Regions from separate parts of the Homo sapiens genome. Here all the other regions are linked to region 3. The links are contacts of gene promoters, found by promoter capture Hi-C in human tissues and cell types (Jung and others, 2019). All regions are on one chromosome and are shown on one strand. Each heading gives the region's core, a stretch centred on a gene start or on the middle of the fragment in contact. The rest is flanking DNA. Distances are from core to core; before and after follow the strand shown. Region 1 overlaps PTPRT (protein tyrosine phosphatase receptor type T). Region 2 overlaps LOC101927182 (a long non-coding RNA gene). Region 3 holds the start of PTPRT (protein tyrosine phosphatase receptor type T).

What was found. The method cuts DNA at HindIII sites, captures the fragments that hold promoters and counts their contacts. A contact is called where the count stands out against the background at its distance.
Region 1: a fragment that was not itself captured here is called in contact with the fragment with the promoter of PTPRT in region 3 in 1 of the 25 tissues and cell types used here (dorsolateral prefrontal cortex).
Region 2: a contact is called between a fragment that was not itself captured here and the fragment with the promoter of PTPRT in region 3, in 1 of the 25 tissues and cell types used here (dorsolateral prefrontal cortex).

Annotation. Positions count from the first base shown.
Region 1 is chr20:42,177,344-42,181,351 of GRCh38, forward strand. The region is part of intron 16 of PTPRT (protein tyrosine phosphatase receptor type T); the gene reads right to left. Among named protein-coding and RNA genes, the nearest start is that of CHD6, 560 kb to the left of the region's middle. RefSeq lists a silencer at 2,523-2,723. The HindIII fragment of the contact is 4,223 bases long and covers 294-4,008 here.
Region 2 is chr20:42,044,265-42,048,040 of GRCh38, forward strand. All of the region lies in intron 2 of LOC101927182 (a long non-coding RNA gene), which reads left to right. It also overlaps a transcript of PTPRT not described here. Among named protein-coding and RNA genes, the nearest start is that of CHD6, 430 kb to the left of the region's middle. The HindIII fragment of the contact is 4,523 bases long and covers 1-3,762 here.
Region 3 is chr20:43,188,369-43,192,276 of GRCh38, forward strand. PTPRT (protein tyrosine phosphatase receptor type T) reads right to left here and starts at 1,538. Exons shown (of 31, transcript NM_007050.6): 1 at 1,278-1,538. The coding sequence starts at 1,365. PTPRT-DT (PTPRT divergent transcript) reads left to right here and starts at 1,697. Exons shown (of 3, transcript NR_186414.1): 1 at 1,697-1,882. The HindIII fragment of the contact is 13,787 bases long and covers 1-3,800 here.

The sequences.
Region 1 (4,008 bases), core at 1,155-3,654, 1.0 Mb before region 3:
AAAAGCAAACATTATTCTTTCTGCTCTTACTGAATGAATGAAGTAGTACAGCTTAGTATTGTTCAAAACCAACCAAAAAATGCAACTAATTAAATCTGATGGCCTTAACCCTGGAAAGAACAGATACCTAACACTCTCATAAGAATGAATAAAGCAGTGTGTCCCCATCAAGGTTCAGCCTGGCTGATCCTCAGGTGCTGAATTATAGAGGCTGATCACTGAAATGCCAAACTACTTTGTTTTATATAGTAGATTCCAAATGCTAGTACCGTACAAGAGTCATTCAAAGAACATACTAAATATAGATTCCTTTGCTCCATATTCTAGACATAAGGATTTAGTGGCTTTAGTTTGGGGCCAGTCATGTTTTGGGAACTACTGTTATAACCATTTTATGGGGGGGCAGGATAGCACCTAGGGAAGAAGAATGGTAAGTTTGACCCAATTCCTTATTGGGAACATGGTAAAGATCTTTCTGTCTGTCTGTCTCCCTCCTTCTCTTCTCCCTTCCCTCCCCTCCCCTTCCCTTCCTCTCTCTCTTTTTTCTTTCTTTCCTTTCTCTCTCTCTTTCTCTCTCCTTCCTTCTTTCCTTCCTTCTTTTCTTTTCTTTCTTTCATGGAGTCTAGCTCTTTCGCCCAGGCTAGAGTGCAGTGGCATGATCTTGGCTCAGTGCAACCTCTGCCACCTGGGTTCAAGCGACTCTCCTGCCTCAGCCTCCCAAGTAGCTGGGATAACAGGCACCTGCCACCACACCCGGCTAATTTTTGTATTTTTAGTAGAGATAAGATTTCACTGTGTTGGCCAGGCTGTTCTCGAACTCCTGACCTTGTGATCCACCCACCTCGGCCTCCCAAAGTGCTGGGATTACAAGCGAGAGCCACCGTGCCCAGCCAGAAGATCTGTTTTTCAAGCCTGCTTGCCAGCCTCTGAAGAATCCTAGTGATTCTCATAGTAATAAAGGTGTGCAAGTCATAAGGGAGTCAATGTTACAGGGAAACAGTCCCTGAATAGTTGCCCTTATGGGATGTCAAAGCTTTGAGGATCCCTGGCAGCTGCAATGAGAGGTCTGGACTGTAATTCCTATCTTCTTGTCTATTGAAATGCATCAGAAGAACCAGGGTTAAATCCTGGCTCTACTACTTATTAGTCAAAGGCTTTGGGCAAATTAATTAACATCTCACATGTTAAGCCATGTATTAGTTATCCACTGCTACTTGACAAACTACCCCCAACCACAGCAGCTTAAAATAACAAACATATACGATCTCAGTTTCTGCAGATAGAAATCTGGTTGCAGCCTAGATGTGTATCTCTGGCTCAAGGTCTTTTGTGAGGTTGCACTCAAGCTGACCGCTGTGGTAATGATCTCATCTGAAGACTCAGCTGGGAGAGAATTCAAGTTAACTGATTTCATAATCACTGACATGATACTGACAGATTCATTTTTTCATGGGCTACTGCAGTATGGGACTCAGTTCCTTGCTGGCTGTTGGCTGGGCATCTCCCTCGATTTCTTGCCAATAGGTCAACTTACAATATAGTAGCTAGCTTCCCAAGGAACAGACAAGTGGGAGTGAGAGAGAGCACCCAAGATAAAAGCCACAGTCTTCTTAAAGACAAATCTTGAAAGGGACATCTCATCACTTTATCATATCCTATTCATTGGAAGCCAGTCACTAGATCTTGGCTGCAATGAGGAAGGGCGTTATATAAGAATGTGGCATAGGAGGCAGGGATCATTGGGGCCATCTTAAAGTTTGCCAACCACAAATCCTAATATCATTCTGCAATGTTTTTGTGAGAACCAAAAGAGGTAATGTCGATGAAAGAACATTTAAATATACACATATGAGAGTATATTATAATAATTCATTCCAAGGAGTCCAGTCAAAATCTTCCAGCTGACTTTGCTTAGCTTTGCCAAGTATTCCAAGGCATTCACTTAATAAAAGTTTTTTAATTCATGAAAGCTTCTAAAGTACCCTCTTTACACTTTTCCAAAGAGTTTTCCAAGATCTGATTTTTCAAGGAAAGTAAATGGTTTAATTTTCCTTATCACATGAATTGCCATTGACAACAATCTTTAATCGTTAAAGAGTTAACAATGTACTTTCAATTGCTTTACGCAGATAAAAAATCCATTCCCTAAGACAATGAATTAGCCACATAATTGACAGCCAATTCCAGTAATAAAACGCTAATTAAGTGATAATGCTAAGTAAAAAATATAATGTGATGAATTTGCTAAACAATGGCCTAACTAATAAATTTTCATGCTAAATAAATGATTTGGAATGGTGACTAAACCCTCACCACATTTAGGGTCAGTTGAAAAAGCAATGATGCTTTCAGAAAACAATGACAGAAGTGACTGTGCCAGCTAACATCCTTAACAGTATTACACTGGGCTCTTTGCCAAGCAGGGCCAAGGGACTAAGTCTGAATGGGGTAGGTGTACCGGAATCTGGGGGGCTGGAGCAATCACCATGATGATAGTATGGGTGACTAGCCTAAAGAAAGGCATGGAATAGCCAAGTATAGCCAGCTGTAGTAATAGCAGAACCCAGCAATGGGCAAGAAGATGCAGAAATCAATGCTAGATCATCTTGAGCTAAAGAAGATCAGGGTCAGCACCAAGGACAGATCCTGGATGCGGTGGCTCCGGGAAGATTCCTGCAGATAGACGTGTTTTGTCATAAACAAGGAAGTCAAAGATTACAGAGTTTTCTCCTTACCCCAGAAGGCTAGGCTAGTGGTGAGACTCAGCTCTCATAGGCACAAGGGTCTTCACTATTTTTTGGAAGCACCATGGTTTCAACCCATTTAATTTACAATGGTACCTTCTGAAAGGATCTAAATTTAGAGGAGAAGTCCATATTTCTTATGGGTTCCACTGGTTTTGACTGACCTTTACAGCTGGAACAGGGTTCTAGCTTCCACATATCAGGCACATGCTTGCCTTGGGAGCCTCTAATAGAGACACTCTTTCCTGACATGGCTCACATCTGTTACCTTTTTAAAGTCTTTAGTCAGATGTCATCTTCTATAAAACTGCAATCCTCCTCCACTTATGACTCCTGATCCCATTCAGCATGTTCTATTGTTTCAGTGCACCCTCACTTGTTATTATGTCATATCATATAATGTACTTATCTTTTGCTGTCCATTGCTTATTTCCTGTCTCTCTTTCCACTTCCTACCATCAATGGAATGTAAGCTCTAGAAAGACAGGGAATTTTTAATTTCTGTATTCTTCACTGATGTATATTAAAAGTGCATAATATGTCAGGCACATAGTAGGTGCTCAACAAACCTTGTTGAATAAATGAGTGGCAGCATGTTCAGAAGCTTGTTACACTCTAACCTCTGAAGAGAGTAGTGCAATCTTAGAAATCAGTGGAGTAAACAAGAGCCTATATCCTCTGATTTTAAGACACCACTGTCCCAGTATGCCATCCTCTTACTTAGTGGCTTCAGAGGTGTCCGCATATTTCTCACTATTCGGGAGGGAGTACATTATAGTAGTAGGATCATATGCAAGAGAAAGATTAAGTTTAAATCCTAGCTCTACTACTAATAGCTATGTGACCTTGAGCAAGTTATTTAATCTCCCTGAACCTCAATCTCCACATGTGTGAAAGAAGCCTAGTACCAACAATAATCATCAACTCATAGGTTTTAAGGATTAAATGATATAACGTATGCACAGCATCTAGCATAGTCCTTGGCACACAGTTAGGGCTCAATAAATATTAGTTTCTTGTACTTTCCCATTTAAATACAATATGATACATCCCTTAATACATAAGAGTAAATTGACTTTTCAGATTATGCCAGATATTGGGAAGGCTCACAAGGGCATGAAATTGGAGAAGAGTAAGCTGTGACTGGGGAAGTGTAAAAGGCTAGAAGCCTAGAGCCCTCTGGAGGAGAGAGGGGAGATCACAAGGGTAGGGGCAGTAGGGGACACAAAGTGGGTCTGAAGAGTGTTCCCTCTGTTTTCCAGGG
Region 2 (3,776 bases), core at 251-2,750, 1.1 Mb before region 3:
CAGTGCCTTGTGCTGGTGTTTGGAGAAGAGTTGTGTGCTGGTAATTGATGGTGTGTACTTGTTCAGATGTCCCAAATAGCTGATGATTTGATTATGAGGACTTTACAACCACTCAGGCCCAGGCTCATTCTGGTTTTCCAAAGAAGATGATTCCAGACACACACCAATCGAGAGGACTCATGCTAGGCATTGGGCATAGAGCCTGGCACAAGGCCTGGTCACAGGAATTGCCCAGTAAAGGGCAGTTCTTCTCTGTCCTCCATGTCTGTTGGCCAGAGTTAAGTCATGGGAGTGGTCACAAAGAGGGAGGAGGCAGGAAACCTTATTAATAAAGAAGTTGATGGCATTTATAAGTAAAATAATGTTAAGTGAATATCTGTGATTTGCTGGGCATGAGTCTAAGTACTTTATCTGTAAGAACTCACTTAATCCTCAGAAGAAACCCAATGAGAGAGGTATTCGCTTTCGTCTCCCACTGCTGCTGTGATAAGCCATCACAAACTTGGTGACTTAAAGCAACACAGACTGATTACATTACAATTCTGGAGGTCAGAGATCTGACATGAAACTAACTGGGCTAGAATTTTAAGGTGTTGGAAGTGCTGTCTTCCTTTGTGGAAACTCTAGGGAAGAATCCATTTCCTGGCCTTTTTCCCACTTCTAAAGGCCGCCTGCATTTCTTGGCTTATTGCCCCTTCTGCCTTCAAAGCTAGCAGTGTCACCTGAGTCGTCCTTACACTACCATCTCTGGTTCTCTTCTGTCTCTCTCATCTCTGTTTGAAGATGCTTTTGACTATGTTAGGTCTACCTGGATTATCCAGGATAATCTATTTACCTCAAGGTCAGCTGATTAGCAACCTTAATTCCATCTGCAACTTTAATTTTCTTTTGCCATGTAACCTAACATATTCACAGGTTCCAGGGATTAGGACATAGACACCTTTGGGAGGGGATTATTCTACCTACCAGAGAGAGTACTGTTAATAAAGGAGGTACTATTAAAGGAGGACCAAGACCATCACAGTGATTGCAAGAGTCAGCACTGAATTTACTAATTTAACAACCAAGGGAAGATAACTTGGGGAAGAAATACACTGAGTGGCTCCCTGAAGGGAAAATGTCAGTGAGTTTTACGTGCAGGCAAGAAAGTTTCGTTGTGATTATGCTAATTAAGAATCGAAGTTTGCATCCTAGATTAGACAAAATAAATCAATTGATCCATACATTAAAATGTCTTTTTATATTCACCAAGCGAGAGGCTTCAGGTTGGTCTAGGGAAGATCTGGTGTCCTGAGGTCACTCCAAGTCCGTAGATGTTTATCTGCTTCAGTTGGTTAGTATTGCCAGTGTGGTAAAACTCAGCATTCAGTGCCTGTACAAGTGGAAAGTCCTTTTTTTTTTCTTTTAAACAGTACTATTATTGTTCCCAGTTTACAGATGAGGAAACTGAGACTTACAGACACCACATAACTTGAAGATAGTAAAGCCAGGATTCATACCTGAACAACTGAGGCCAAGTCTCCCTTTCTCCTTTTTTTCCCAAAGCAAATGTAGTTTCTTTATTTCTCTATAAATCATCAGCTGACCCTCACAATTTAGTTGAATCCAGAAACATAATTCAAGGTAGTCATTGAAATCATCCCTCTAGTTACATGCTCAGTCTATTTTAGCAATACACTAAGTCTCTCAGATTTTTTTCTTACAATATTTACCCCTCAACTACTCTCCCAAGGCTATGTCTAAAGGGGCAGGGGTTGGTGGGGGAGGTTTCCCTTGACCTCATGGAGGTGAGGAAGTGGGCAAGTGCCCTGGAGTCATGTCCTCCGCCTCTGCGTTGGTCTGGTCTGTATAGTTGCTGGACTGGCCTTTTCCTGGGGCTGGGAGCACCCAAGGTCCATTAGGGTCTTAGTGCCCATGATCACAGCTCTTGAAAGCCTCTGTACCCCGAGCCTGCAAGTCTCCTTTCTTAATCGCTTTATTCAAGGACTCAAGACTCCAGGTGTTGCCGACACTCTTCTCCTGAACCCACCCAATCTAAGAGGCTGCAAGTGGAGAATTCAACAATGGCACTTCCTGGGGGTTGAGAGGCTCAGATGGAAAAATCAATGCTTATCTCTGCCAGGAGTTTTGGGAAAATGCATTTCTTGAGTGAATGGGGACATTTGCAGATGAAATTCACCAACCATCAGGCAGCCAGTGCCTCTTGCAGCAGAAAACATGATCAGCTTCTGACATTAACCCCAGGGCAGGAAGGAGCAGCTCATTAAGCTCTGGCAGGGATGCTGACAGCCACAGACGTGAGACCATGTTTATAAACGACTTACAGTGGGGACCAGTGACACCTCATTATAGGCGCCCATCAAGGGCCTGTTCTTCCCTCTTTATCTCCCTCTATCAATCTTCCAGTGCAGAGTCTGTAATTAGGACCTGTATTGACTCTTGATCAATTTGTTTAGTTAGGCCGAGGAAGAACACTGCTGGTTACGTGTACACATTGAAAAGGTTGTCATGTGAGTGTGTGTGTGTGTGTGTCTGTGTCTGTGTGTTGTAGGGGGCACGGAGGGAGGGACACAGGATTCCTGGCTCTGCCTGTAGCCACAGAAGTACGCCTGAGGGATTCAGTTTCTCTCTGATGTGGTTCCTCATGTCTTTGGGGGCTGCCATGACAGCTGGCACCCAGCCCTCCCTGAGATGATTTGGGATGCCTGATACTTTCACTGTGTTACATAGAATTGCTCCCTGTGAGTTGGGTTCTGCACTGTGCCATGTGGATTAATTCTTGCATAGGCCCTGACAAACTTCTCCAATGAGGAAATGAAAACTTAGTGTGGACAAGTAACTTGTTGGGGGTTAAGGTAACCCCACAACTTTGTGAGGTTGCCTTAAACACGTAATGTCAATCAGACCAGAAGTGGGACAAGATCTTTGGTACAGCCTATTGGGTGATACTGATGCATCTACAAACACACTGTCATTAATTGGGGGTGAGGTAGGAGATAGCTAGGCTCAGCCCCAATCCTAGCAAATAGGAAACCTTGTTTAGCAAATAGGCTAAATTGGTTGAGGACCTATACTACCCCTGGGGGATTGCTGCCTGGGCTGTCAGACAGCTTGGCAAGTGACAAGACCCTCTTCCTTTGAAGACAGGCCACCAGACCCTCTTCATTCAGCTTGTTACACATTCTGGTCCCATAGCCAGTTCCACTTGCACTGAGCTCATGGTCACATGAGAATCATATCGTGATGAATTGGCCTTCCATGCAGATTCTCTGTGGATAGATAATGGTTGATTTTGCATTTCTCATACCTGAATTTAAATACTGGCATTCAGGTATATTCATTAGCTTCTTGTAAGCTTGGTAAATGTGAGTCTAGTCCAGTAGGATGGCTGTACCCTTTAGTTCTGGACAAGCACAAAATCCTGAAACTTGGGGCTGTGACTAAGCGGCTATGCTTGATGGGTTCTTCTGGGAGATTTGTCAGTCACATTTTCTGGGAGACACTGGGCCCTTGTGACCCCATAAACCCATGGCTATTACCTTTTTGTATTGAAGGAGGCAGGACTTCATATTTTATTTGCTGACTCTGTATTTGATACTCTTCCCAGTGCCCAATATCATCTTCCTAGTCTTGGTCTCCCAATGCAGACATCTGGTAGCCTAGGCTCTGCTCTGGAAAATATGGAGTGGGTTTGAAGGGTGAGGGTTGAGGGGATGAATATTTCAAGATTCTCCTGACTTGGCGCTGGAGAGGAAAACAACAGAATTGGGCTTTCT
Region 3 (3,908 bases), core at 288-2,787:
GTCGCCTATTCCGCTTCCATTTTAGTACCAAGCAAGGAAGGCTCTAAAGCATTTCCAACGGAATGTCCTTCCAGCGGCCCTTAACCTCAGACGCAGCTTGTGCAAAGACGCTGTACCTCCCCACAGGTTCGTTCTTTTGCTCTTTCTTTCTTCCTTTCCTTCTTTCGGTGAAATAATAAATGGGCACAGCTGTTGCTTAGCGATCCGAAACCAGCCTGTTCCTGCGTCCCACGGGCTGATCTCAGCCTGTCCCCGCAATCCCAGCCACCTCAGGCCGGCGTGGTTACACCAAAAGCAATCGGTGCTAAGAAACTTTAAGGTGATTTTGAACTTGGAAGTACACCTGCAGCACTCCCTTCTCTTCCCTCCGCCGCTACTCTTGGGGGGGGGGGGGCTCGGGGGTGGAAGCTGCCTGCGGTGGGGCTTGGTGATGTGTAAGACCCTGGACTGTGGTGCCCTCCAGCACCCGCCAACGTGCCTTTAGGAGCACGGCAGGCACCACCCCCCCGCCCCCGCTCCCCCTACTCTGGGGAACTACCTCTGCTCACCGCCTTCCCGTGGCCAAACCCAAATATGAGTTCCCCGAACTTTTCAGGAGCGGACGCGCTCACGGGTCAAATCCACTCCCCTCCAAGGGCCTTAACACGGGCGCCCAGCTACCTCGGAGAAAAGCCAGCGGGTAGGGCGGAGGTATTGCTCTCGGTCATCAACGCAAACATCCCCTCGGGTGCCTACAGCGGCCTGCTTAGGGGAGCAGCGTGTTCAGAGCAAATGGAGAGCTTCCTGTATCTCCGAGGAAAAAAGAAAAGCCGCCGCCCCGGCAGCCTCGGCCTGCTGGGGACCTGTCCTCCCCACTAAAAGCGCGCGCTGCCCGAGGAGCTGCCCGGGAGAGAACGCTCCACCCCGGGCGTCGGTGCCGCTCCTCGTCTCGCCGCCCCAAACACTCAAGTGGCAGATTCCGACAAGTGGGAGGCAGCAAGTGGAAATATTCGCAACAACCGCGGAAAGTTACTCCAGCCCGGGGGGCCGGCAGGAAACTGAAGCGGGGAACTTCGCCAAACGCGGGCTGCCGAGGGACGCGAGGGGCCGGGCTCGCTGGCCGGGGCGCGCGGGGACACTGCTTCCCGCGCCTGCAAGCTGAGACCCGGGTTCCGGCCATGGGGACCCGCGCCCCCGCGAGCCCACACAACTTTCTCCTCCGAGGGCCCCGCGGCTGGGGGCCCGCGCGCATCCAGGAGGGAGCGGGGAGCCCAGGGGAGCCGGGCGGGCGCACTCACCTGCGGCGCTCTGAGCCCGGGCGCCGGGCAGTGGCGGCAGCTGCAGCCTCAGGAGCAGGCTGAGGGCGAGCGCGGCGAGGCTCGCCATCCGGGCGGCGGCGGGCAGCTCAGCCCCTTCCCGCGGGGGCCGGGGCCGGGACTGGGGCGGGCGCGGGGTGGCCCCGCATCGCCGGCGCGGCCGCTGGCTGTGCGCGCGGCTGGCTCCGCTCGGGCTCCCGGAGCCGGCGCTCCTGCGTTCCAAGCCGAGGCGCGGCGCGAACTGAGGCGGGAGGCTGGGCGGGGGCGGGACGCGGGGGGCGGGGGGCGGTGTCCCCCGAGTCCTAACGCCGCCGCCGTTGCCGCCGCCGCCGCCGCCGCCGCCCGCCCGGGCGCTCCGCCTCGGCCGTGCACACACCCTCACGCGCACGCCCGCGCCTGGCACACGCCCGCGGCTGGCACACGCGGGCTCCCCCGCGCACCCTCTCCGGGGCCGACCAGCTCGGGCCGCTGGCACAGTCACGCGCGTCCACACATCACCCCCGCACCCACACGCCGGGCAGGGTCCTCGCCTCTTCGCCCCGCGCCGCGCCGCGCAGCCAAGCATCGTCTGCCCTGTGGGGGCGCAGGTACGGGGGCGGTGCGGGGAGGAGGAAGCTGCAGCAGCCGTTTGAACTCGGGGTGGGGAACAGGTGAATGGGGGTTCGGTGGCGAGAAGAGGGAGGGAGGGAGCAGCCCTCGCAACTCAAGATAAGGGGCCAGGTGAATTGCGAAAGCGGGTGGGGGCGTCTGCCCAAAGCTGGGGCAGGCGGCTGCTGGCCAGGGTCTCGGGCACACCCTGAGATGAGAATTTCATCTAAGAGCGCGCGCGCGCACACACACACAACCCACTCACACTCTTCTGGGCGCATCGCTGACCGCGCCACAATCGTCGTCCCCCTCAATTAGCCGCCCACCCCACCTTCTTCTTCACCCACATCTCTCTCTTGTCCCCACCACCACGCGGAAGGGGGCGCAGAAGGGGCATGAGGCATCCCCCCACCCCCTACAATTTTTCCCTGGCAGCCTTCCCTTTCCTTTTCTAGGGAGACAGAACCTTGTAGCTTTTTCCCTTTTCTTCTCGGTCTTAACAAAGACCTGGTTGGGGCTGAAAGCCTAAAACCATAGATCAGGGTTGGAGCTGTCCCTGGCAGCCCACGGCCCACAGCCTGGCTCTCTGCTGTCCTGGGAGGCAGCTGGTACCTGAGTCTTGGCTGGGGGTCTGAGATGTAAAAGCCAGGGGCAGGGATACCCAGAAATGCTTAAGGGATTCACACTTTGTGAACACTTTGCTACCTGGCCAAAGCCCTCCTTCTTCTGTGTCAGCACAGCCCCCCACCCCCATCCTTGTTGGGGTACCAGGGACTGGACTGGGGAGACTGTAAGTGAATTGTGAAAATCAAGCATGGCAGGGTTTCCAAAAGTGGGGAGCCCCAGGCTCTGGACCCAAGTTGGCATGGCAGAGAACACAGGGCGTCACTCTGTCAGTCCCCAGTTCCCAGTCCCCACTAGGTAAAGTGGCCCAGTTCCCTGGCATGGAAGCCCAATTTACAATCCCAGGCAAATTCTTCCACCCCTCTCCGGACCCCGACTCCCACCACCACCACCATGACCGTGACCACTTTCAAAAGCTGACGTGCTTGGACTAGCCTGTTGGACCAGCCAGTGCCTCCCACACTTGCCTGGTCAAAGAACTACCAGGAAGATTTCTCCAAGTCCTGCTTCCCAGACCCCTGCTGGGGAGAGTGGAATTTGGCAGGCCTGTCGGGGGTGGCCTGGGAGTTGAACCTTTTACAAGCTGCTTTGGAGATTAATAATTCTACCAATATTTATGGTGCATTTAATTGTGTGCCTTACTCTGTGCTGTTCTCTGGGGATACCACAATGCTATAGCCCTTAGGGACAATTGGAATGGAAAGATCCCTTCTGCTCAGAGCTGAGCTTCCAGCTGTTTGCTCCATCACTCACTCATTCTAACCCTGCCTTGGGCAGATGAGCAGTTAGGAAGTGTGCGAGGAGAGGCCTGACCCAAGACCACCACAAGCGACCCCAGTCATGGCAGATCCCAGGGGATGACCCGGGTGGGGAGATTTCTAAGCCACTAAAGAGCTTGGTGTCACACTTGTAACTTGTTGCCACTTTCTTGGGCTCCTGCCAATTCATCCCCTCTCTCAAGCTTTCTGGAAAACTATAAAATAGCAGTTCTCACAGCATCCTCAGAGCAACGCCCTTTGGCACCCCCCTGCACTCCTGCTTTAGGGATGTGATATCACTGCAGACAAATCCCCCAGGTCTGAATGGGGTTCATGTGGCCCCGAGGGGAAAAAAAAAATTCAGTAGTCACTGAGCTGGTGGAGTGGGACCTGATCCTGCACCAGGACTTACCTGCCCAGGTGCACCGTGGTCATGAACCGTGACCCTCTGTGCTTTCTAAACCTCCCTCTACTCCGAGAAACTGCCCCCTCTCCTTCAGTAGCACGTGCTGCCACCTGCTGCCCGGCCAGGCTCTGGCACCCACAGCACTGCCACGCTTTTGCACCGGCCAGTCCCTCTGCCTGGAAGCCCTGCACTGTATCATCTCCCTGGGAAACTCACACTAGCCCTTAGGGCTTCCCT